2 separate regions of the Homo sapiens genome follow, and region 1 is linked to region 2. The links are contacts of gene promoters, found by promoter capture Hi-C in human tissues and cell types (Jung and others, 2019). All regions are on one chromosome and are shown on one strand. Each heading gives the region's core, a stretch centred on a gene start or on the middle of the fragment in contact. The rest is flanking DNA. Distances are from core to core; before and after follow the strand shown.

Region 1 (4,685 bases), core at 321-2,820, 170 kb after region 2:
TCTCACTCTGTCGCCCAGGCTGGAGTGCAGTGGCGCGATCTTGGCTCACTGCAAGCTCTGCCTCTCAGGTTCACATCATTCTCCTGCCTCAGCCTCCCGAGTAGCTGGGACTACAGGCCCCCACCACCATGTCCGGCTGATTTTTTTTGTATTTTTTTGTATTTTTTAGTAGAGACAGGGTTTCACTGTGTTAGCCAGGATGGTCTCCATCTCCTGACCTCGTGATCCATCCGCCTCAGCCTCCCAAAGTGCTGGGATTACAGGTGTGAGCCATTGCACCTGGACTCTTTTGCCCATATTTTCATTGGGTTATTTGTTTTTTGCTCATTGATTTGTTTAAGTTGTCTATACATTCTGGGTATTAGGCCTTTGTTGGATGCATAATTTGCAAATATCTTCTCCTGTTCTGTCTGTTTGCTCTGTTCATAGTTTCTTTTGCTGTGCAGAAGCTCTTTAGTTTAATTAGGCCCCACTTGTCTATTTTTGTTTTTGTTGCAATTGCTTTTGGGGACTTAGGCAAAAATTCTTCACCAAGGCTGATGTTGAGAAGAGTATTTCCTAGGTTGCCTTCCAGTATTTTTATAGTTTGAGATCTTACATTTAAATATTTAATTTAGTTTGAGTTAGTTTTTATATATGGTAAGAGGTAGGAGTCTGGTTTCAATCTTCTGGATATGCCGAGCTATTAATAGTTTTCCGAGCACCATTTATTGATAAGGAGTCCTTTCCCCATTGCTTGTTTTTGTCAGCCTTATGGATGATCAGATGGTTGTAGGTATGTGGCTTTACTTCTGATTTTTCTATTCTGTTCCATTGGTCTATTTGTCTGTTTTTGTACCAGTACCAAGCTGTTTTGGTTATTGTGGCTCTATAGTATAGTTTGAATTCAGGTAGTGTGGTGCTTAGGACTTCTTTGGCTATTCAGGCTCCCTTTTGGTCCCATATGAATTTTAGAATTTTTTTTCTAATTCTGTAAAGAATGATGTTGGTAGTTTGATAGGAATAGCATTGAATCTGTAATTTTTTGCACAAATTTCTAAATCTCAGATAATCTTTGCAGAAGTAGGTGCCTCATCCTCTAGAAATTTCACAATTTCCAGAGAGGTCTTTCCTTATCTTCCTTTATGGGAAAAGAGTAATTCTTTCTATTGACAGATGTCTGTGTGATCTAATAAACACTTGAAGCTGGAACCATAAGGAAAAGATTTGTTTTTAAAAAGGCAAAGTTTTTAAAAAGGCAGAGTTTAATCTTGAGGTAAACTTAAAAAAATAAGATGTTGATATATACTCCAACCTCAAACAATCATAAAGCAGTTATCTTTATACCTTTCTGGGTGTTGAGTTGTGTTATTCCCTTAAAATGTGAGAATGGATGTCCACACAATCAAAATATATAACTTGGGACCAGAGGGCATTTTTGGCCAAATCACCTGTTGTAGGAAGAATACTCATACTTAGTATAAACATTTACACCTCGATGTTCATGCAGAGATAATTTGATTTAAGTGAAGTGATCCACATAAGGTTATAAACAAGGTGAGGTCCAGAGCAGATCCTTTTTTACTATGTTTTTTATTATGTATGCTCTCCTTTAGACCCACGACTCCTGTAGTATTGTTTTGAGAGGCCTCCAGGTAACCTAAAAGTTGGTCTTAGGTAGCATTTATGCGTTTTTATAATATAACTTTTGATGCTACTATTCTGAATCTCCAAATAGAGATTTATTTCTAATGATTAATAAAAACCTAAGCATTTTATCTGAGTTACACTAGAGAGAAGACTCTACATTTTCTTGTAATTTTTTTTTTCAGCAGTACAGTGTAGCCAGCAGGTCTTATCTGGCTAATGATCAGAATTATTGAGGCAGACCAAAGTGCCCTTTTATGGCATCTAAACTTAAAAATTAATTTTGCTTTTCATAGGCTTACTGAATAATGTCTCATTGTAATTCCTAAGATATGTAAGTATTCCTAGATATTTAAAAAACCATATTGGGTGCATCAAACAATGGGAAGCATTATGGAGAAGCTATCTCACGTATTCTTATTTATTTCGTGATATCCAACATGGACATCTTACAAACGTAAGACAATTTTGCTTCCAAGCATTCTCCCTTTGAAGATTATTTATCAATTGTCCCTTTGGGTGAGACACTGCTGTCTCATCCCCATTACCTTGTCAAGTCCTAAAGGATGTTAGCAGACCTCAGAGAAGGTGAATTTCCCCTTTCTTCTAGAATAGATATGTCTAGGCAACATCAAAGCAAGCTGACTAAAAAAAGCTTTAATCAACTGAACATGTCTTTTTGGTATCTAATGCTTTGTTGAATCTGTTTCTGTCTTTTTCCCTCTCCATTTCATTTAGCTGACAGGTGTGGCCATTTAGAAGAATGTTTAAGCTTCAAATTCAACGAAACCCATGTTTTTAAATTAGGAACTATGTATATTTCTACCCTGAAAGATCTCAAAGCACTTTAAAATTTTCTCTGTGCTCAAGCACAAACTCACTATTGGGATCATTTTACCTTCCACTACGTGTCTATATTAGAGGTGGAATGCGGCAGCTGTTTAACCCTGAGAGGCTTCCCAGAACTTGAAGACAGGGAATGAAGAATTATGTATTCTATTCCTTCTATGGTTTCAAGAGGCAGAACTAGAATCTAGTGTGACCAGATTAGAATCTGCCAAGCCTTCTCAATTACTCAATCAGTAGGAGTTGAATAAATGCAGATGGTTAAGGTCTTATATTCAGGGCCTTGTTTCATACATTGGTAAGGGATGGTAGCTTCTTACATTGATTCTCACTGAGGAAGTATGTGGGTTGAGAAACAATTTAGAGGCAAATTCCATTTTGTCAGGATGCAGAAAAAGGCTAATTGGTGAAAGGTGGCAGAAAGAGTGCAGGGTTGTGAATACAAAGACTTGGGAGTCCTTCATCATGTATGAAGATAAAGTGATGTAGATGAACTCCAGGTAATTGAGTATCTTCCATATATATGGAAAAACCCTAATTAAATGAGAACTGGGCCCTAGAACCTTTCTTCAAACAAACTTTATGGTCTTTTCCCTCCTTATTTGAAAAGTAATACATTATTCTAGTTAAAATTTTTGAAAATATTAAAAACATATGACTCTTTATCCCATTATCTATAGTTAATTGTTATTATTTTTTTGTGTGAATTTCCTTGTAAGGTTTTATCTGCATATAAAAAATATAAGGAAAGGAGGAAGTCCTCAGTATTCATGACCTACCCAGGCACAAAGAAACAGAATGTGACTGGGGTTATGAGGCTCATCATCATCATCCAAATATAATATTTTCTTCAGAAGAAGAGAGGTTTAGGAGCTAGAACATATTATTGATGATAATAATTTACAGTAAATTATCTGGAGAATGTTCTCAGTTCTTCAATTTCCTGAAATAGATCTGCCTTATGATTGTGTAAATATTTGTAGAACACGGCTTGGTTGAGACAAAAACAAGACAGGAATATTCTGAAACTCTGAAACTTTGGGGAAATTATAATTTTATTTAGTGTAAATAAACATTCATATATTTATAAAACCTTCTGACACATCACTCTCTTATCCTCGTTTCCTTTTTGGCTTTTTGTGCTTTTGGAAGGGAGGGTAGTGAACTTTTACATAATTATGAAACCTCTGACGCATCACTCTTTTACCCTCATTTCCTTTTTGACTTTGTACTTTTGGAAAGGAAAGTGGTGAGGAATCAAAGGTTTTGTGAAATAGCACCAGTTTAGAAGGGGGTCCAAGTTAAAGCTAAGTGTTTTTTGTCACTTTATTCAGCCTTTATCTGCCCTGTTGGTTCTGTTCATCTGTGGAATACATGGTGGATGGCCTATGGACATTTCCACCATTTTACTTACAGTGGATTTAGCTATAATGATCCTAATGAATCAGGAAGACAACAGATATAATGTACTGATGACAGCTCATGGTAATTATAAAACCTCAGAGATGCCCCTACGGATCTCATTTTATCAGATGCTTTCTATGCTAAACTAAATCAAGACGTTCCCTCATCATTTCAGGTGCTAGTTAATGTGCTAAATGGTGTGGAATTTTATGACCATAAAAGGTCAAGTTTCAAGAGTTTTATTTTTAATGAAAATTTCCTGGCATCTAAAATGTGAGGTCCAATCATACTGAATTCATTGGCAACCAGACCTGCTTAAAAGTGAAACCCCACTTCCCCAGGGCTTTCAAGTCAGAGAGGAGAAAGTCCCCTCAGGTTGCTCCTACTCTTGCCAGGTTTCAGTTATAACAGAGAATCTTTTCACAAAAGGTAGTCAATTTATATTTCAAGCATTTGAAAGCATATTTCATTGGCTCATCTGGACACTGGAAAATCTTATGTCTCTTCCTGAGTGATTTGGCGCATTACTTTGGCACACAGCAAGAACTCGCACACCTGGCAAATCATCTCAACTTTTTTGATGCTCAGAAGGAGGCTTCAAAACTAGAAGCATTTTGGATGGTGAGCTATGCTCATTGTGCCCAAATCCAAAGAATGTGAAAACAACTATTTATATTCAGAGATGGGAAGTGGGAACAGAGAACAAGGGCAGGGGGCGGGAAAGAAGACACAGTTTCAAATGAGAAAAGAAAAAGAAATATGGATGTATTATTTGATCAAAACTTATTTATTTATTAAATATATATTTT
Region 2 (5,061 bases), core at 1-2,500:
GGCCTCTCAGTCTGTCCCCCGCCCCCGGGACCCAGCTCTTTCCGGCTTCTTTGCAAAAGGATAGAACCGTCTCGACCAGGGCACTAGGACTGGAAGATCGGGCTGTGTCTAGGCCGCTGTCCGCGAAATCCGAGACGTTTTTTCAGCTTGGCTAGGACCGACTTCGCTGCCGGTTTGAGCTTTCTCTGCACTCGGGGGTCTCCTGCCGTCCTCGACCGGTGGCGTAACTTGGGAAGAGGTGTGGGAATTAAGAATGGCCAGGAGCGTTGGATTTTTTAATTCCTTAGAAATCCATGTTGAATGCAGTCCTTAGAGATCGCAAAAGGCAGGGGGCGGCCAGGGGGGAGATCAGCTGGCCGGGAAAGCCATGGTCTTGAGGTAACGGGATTTGCAGGGAATTTTGAAAAAGCTCCTTCTCTTCTGTTAAAGTTCCTAGCTGTTCTTGCCTGTCACCTCTCCATAGGTTCTCTGCAACAAGAGCCCGGAACAGGCGAAGCGCAGCCCAGCGTTCGGGCCGTAGGGAAAGAGAGTATTTGCGGCGTGAGGGGGCCCAGCTGGAATACGCCTGAGGAGCTCGCCCTAAACCCCGCGCTCCGCCGCCCGCCCCTTGCTCTCAAGGCGCCTGTGTCTCCTTCTCCACCAGGTAGAGCTGGAAGGAGGAAGCGGTCTTTGAATTTTCAGTTACAAGACCCTGGTTAGTAACAGGGCTTTCTGTTTGCTTGTTTGTTTGTTTCCTTTTGCCTTACCCAGATTTGCTTAGAAAACGTTCAGTAGGAACATTAAAACCTGTGTGGCGAAATCCAGGAGGAACCAGAATATTCTAAAGCACCTAGGGGCTGACGCGAAATTATCAGAATCGTTTTCTGGCATTTTGGACAGGTTAACATTTTGTCAGAGCCCCAAAATTCCAGATCTGCAACTAAAGTGACTCTGGACTTGCAGCGTCTATGAGACCAGCAGATCTGGAAGAAAAACGTATGGATTTGGGATTTGCAGGAGTTTGTAAAGGCGCAGATCAGACCTCAACTTTCAACTGTCCTACCTCCCTCTTGGAGTAACCCATGGGGAAACCGGGAAGCCAGGGGTTAAAGTCGGCCCAGGAGCATCCAGGGGACGACTGGCGCTGCGCTTTGGCCCGGGCCTCAGTCTCTCCCTTCCTCTCATTGGTTCGCGCTCTCGGAGTTTCTCTTGTTCCCTCCTCGCTATTGGTTGGGGGCTGGCTTTTTTCCCCCTCAGTCTTTTTCTTCCTCCCCCTCCCTCTCCCTCACCCCTCGGACAGGAGCGCACCGCCTGCCCCCTGTTCCTCGGGAAGGGAGGAATTTAGCGGAAAAAAAAGTTTCCCAGAAGTTTGGATCACAGGGAGGACGGGAAGGCAGAGAGGAAGAGAGAGAGAGGGGGAGGAGAGAAAAAGAGAGGGAGGGGAGAGAGAGAGAGAGAGAGAGAGGAGAGAGAATAATAATAATAACAAAAACAAGATGAAGTTCAGTGGACACAGTCTGTGAGCGCCTGCCCCGGTGGGTGGGAAGCAGGACTCGGGCGCTCATGCAGCGAGCGGGCGGCGCTCGGGGCGCTAGTTCCTAGCAGCTGGGCCAGCGTAGGGGCGCAGGTCGGATCCGGCAGAGGAGGGCGGAGGAGGACGCAGGGGGAGGGTGGAGAGACCCGCGAGCCGCAGTCTCAGCCTCGTCCGACGCGCCTCCGCCTCTCCCGGGCCGGGCCCGGTGGGCGCTCAGAGCTTGAGGGCGCCGGCTGCTCCCTCGGTAGCGGGGGCAAGCGGAGGCAGGGGTGTGGGCGGCTAAAATGAGTGAAAGGAGAAGATCTGCAGTCGCCCTGAGCTCGCGAGCACATGCCTTCTCCGTTGAAGCCTTGATCGGCTCAAATAAAAAACGGAAACTGCGAGACTGGGAGGAGAAGGGGCTGGACCTGTCTATGGAGGCGCTGAGCCCCGCGGGCCCACTCGGAGACACGGAGGACGCGGCGGCACACGGCCTGGAGCCTCACCCGGGTGAGTGCGTCGCAGCCGACCGCGGGAGGCGGGCGGAGAGGGGACGCCGAAGGGCCAGTCGCCGGTCGCGGGTGAGGAGCTAGGCCCTGCCATTGACGCCCTGCCTTGCCCCAACATAGGTTTCTGTTTCTTCGCGCAAATGCCCTGAGCCTCCCTAAATTCACCGGAACCAATTTTTGGGGCTGGACTGAGCCTTGCATTTTCGTCGCCAGCCTAAGCAAGGAGTCCTGTTTGTTTGCATTTCTTTTTCTTTTGGGTGGAGAGCGCAGCTTTCTGGGTGTCCGTGGATGAAGGGCTGCCGGTCCCTGGGATTGGGAGGGGCGCGGGCCGAAGGCAACGGCGGGAGCCGAGATCTAGGACTCGCTTCTGAGAACTCGGGAGGACTGGCGCGGCGTTCTCCAATCCAATACCTCAGTCTTCGGGGAATGACCAGTTGTCTCATTTAGCCTTCAACCTCGTCCTTGCCTTTCTCCCACCAACTTTTCGATGGTGGAACATAATTATATTTCTACTCCTTTGGCGTTTACGGAAACAAGAATGGATGTTAGACCCCTTACTCCTTGGGTCACTCTTCAGGGCCCACATCTCTGTGTATTTAGGGTGTGGGTACGATTGATTTGTGTCTCAGATCCTACAGTAACCCATGTATATTATGTGCACGGAACATGTAAAAAGCAGGGGGGATGTCATGTCTGTATTTTAACAGAACCCTAGGAGGGGAGAAGCCAACTTTAACGTTTTGTGTTAAGTGCCAAGATTTCAACTGTGCAAAAACAGCCCGGGGGAACAGCTGTTGTCGGAAGAATCTTGAGTGTGCGCGCGCGCACATACAACGCTCGCAACTTGGTTTAGCGGTTTCAGAAGCTTTCCAGCCCGGACTTCTAAAACCATGCTGGAAGGTGCTCCTGCTGAACAGCCAGAGCTGGGGAGTAGACCCCGCTTCACACGCTGACAAGCCCGGGGAGGGGGCAGCGGCCTGCACTGGGATAGAGACGGTCTGGGGCTCAGGAGCTTGGGGATCTCAGCCACAAAGCTGTCCAACTCAGAGGAGGGACAGCTGTCGCTTACATTTTCTCTTTAGGCAGTGACAGTTCAATTTCCATGCTCCCGAGGCTAATAATAATGCGATTAGCGGGTGACCTGCAGAGATAGAGTTTTATGAATTCTCCGTGTTTTTGTGGCCCGTTACGGTATTTGAGTTTAGTGCTGGGGAATTATTTTTATTAGTCGATGAAAAGAAAATTAAAAGGAGATTTATTTCGACCGTCCAAGCCTTTTCCTGTATTTGAATGCAAGTGCTTGTCCACGCGGACCCCTGCGTGGGCATTCCAGAAAGGCACCCAGGGCTACTGTGTGTTTCCCTTCGCTGGCCAGACCCTATTTCCTCAGCTCATTTATCTATTGTCAAAATCTCGCGTGGGCCTTCATACAGTTAGAAGTTCTTGCAGGGGTTATGACGCCTTAGAATTTGTAAGGTTCTTTTATTTTCCCCACGGCGGAAAAAACAGAAGTTGTTTAGCTGCGCGTGGCAGACGTCCTGTCCCGGGGAAGTTTTCTCTTGGGAGGCCCCAGATCGCACGGAGCCCGTCTAGGGCCTTATGTTCAAATGGGTAATACATGGGGTCATAATTAGAGATTCAGATCAGAGTTTGCTCTTTCTGCCGTTCTCCTTAGCCTGAGCTCCATTCAGGAGGCAGAAGAGAGAAAACTTAGGGAATGAGGCAAAAAGAAACCATTCCAGAGCGTGAACCTGGGGAGCTAAGCTCATGAATTCTATTTACTCGCTCCCGCGGGATGGGGGTGGGGTGGAAGATCTAACAGAACTAACTTTATGTAACAGAGTTCGGTTGGTCATTTCCCATTACGTTATCATTTTTTAAAAAAGAAAAAGATGGGTATTTGGATTAGAGAAAACGAAATATATTTGTGGGGCAAGTGTCTAGGAGGAAGAAGCTGAAAGCCCAGCACCCTCTGGCTTTCTGCGGAGCTGGGCTACAGGCCGGGCCTAGCCTTTTAGTGGGCCGGGGGAATCCTTAAGTTGGAGCCCCCGCAATGGCTAAGCCTTTCTTAACGATTTGCTGATAGGATGAGAAAAGATCTTTTAGTAAAAAGGGCGCCGTGGCGTGGAGACGCGGCGGTCCAGGGAGCAGAAGAGGTGGAGCTGTCGGCTCCAGACTCAGGCGGTAGCGAAAGGCGCGACCAGGGCTGGGGGTGTTTTTAGGCCTTTCTTTTTCTGTAATACAGCACCCTAACGAACACACACAGGGACACATTTAAAGATGTGTGTATGGAGGAGTAATGCAGGCGACCCTATTGTGCCCAGGGCAGCGTCTCTTCCCGGGTGAGCCTCATTGTTTTAACTCTTTTGTCCTTAGGGCCCAGAAGCCGCTGCGTGGTTCTCCCGCCCTAGGCCGATAACAAACCGGGAATAGGAAAAAAACAAAAAATTGTTTTGCGGGAAGAATGAAACACACACACACACACAAACACACACGCACACGTTCATGCCTAGAGTATTCTCACCATCTCTCATAGCACCGTTTTTTAGTCCGCTCTGCCGGAGCTTCAAAATTCCGCGATCTTTAGACAACTCTAGGGTCAGATTTTAATGTTTAACTTTCATTCAAAGACGAGGCCTTTTGCTTTTTCACAGCCCATTTTTCTTTCCGCGTCTGGACAGAGCTGGCTTTAGTTGGCGCCCGAGCACCCGCAGCTTGGGGCACCAACCTGCAGCAACGGGGGATCAGTCCGGCCTGCGCGTTGTAGGCACTCACTCCACAGAGGAAACTATGTATTTCGAAAGCGTTTCAAAAATTCCACCGAGCCTGGTGGCCCCGAAAAACCCCAAGGCCCGCCAGACTTTGGAGAAGGGTCTGTGAGGTACCCTCACTGTCATACCTACGCCGGCACTCTCAGTCTTTTGGAGAAGCTACTAGAGAAGTGCCTCAAGACCAGCCTCGGAGGAGCCTGGCTCTCGAGCCTGCTCTCCCCCGCCCTCTCCCAGAGCAACAGAGGAACTTTCGAGCTAGGATCGGCTGGAACAGCTGCTCCGGCTGCGG

Evidence for each region. Contacts are between HindIII fragments. The study calls those that stand out against the background at their distance.
Region 1: a fragment that was not itself captured here is called in contact with the fragment with the promoter of TBX15 in region 2 in 2 of the 25 tissues and cell types used here (bladder and thymus).

The regions. Positions count from the first base shown.
Region 1 is chr1:118,815,140-118,819,824 of GRCh38, reverse strand. The region is part of intron 1 of LOC107985447 (a long non-coding RNA gene); the gene reads left to right. Among named protein-coding and RNA genes, the nearest start is that of TBX15, 170 kb to the left of the region's middle. The HindIII fragment of the contact is 7,268 bases long and covers 1-4,685 here.
Region 2 is chr1:118,984,532-118,989,592 of GRCh38, reverse strand. It overlaps TBX15 (T-box transcription factor 15), which reads left to right and starts at 1,250. Exons shown (of 8, transcript NM_001330677.2): 1 at 1,250-2,002. The coding sequence starts at 1,798. RefSeq lists enhancers at 1,317-1,849, 1,850-2,383, 3,703-4,380. The HindIII fragment of the contact is 7,773 bases long and covers 1-5,061 here.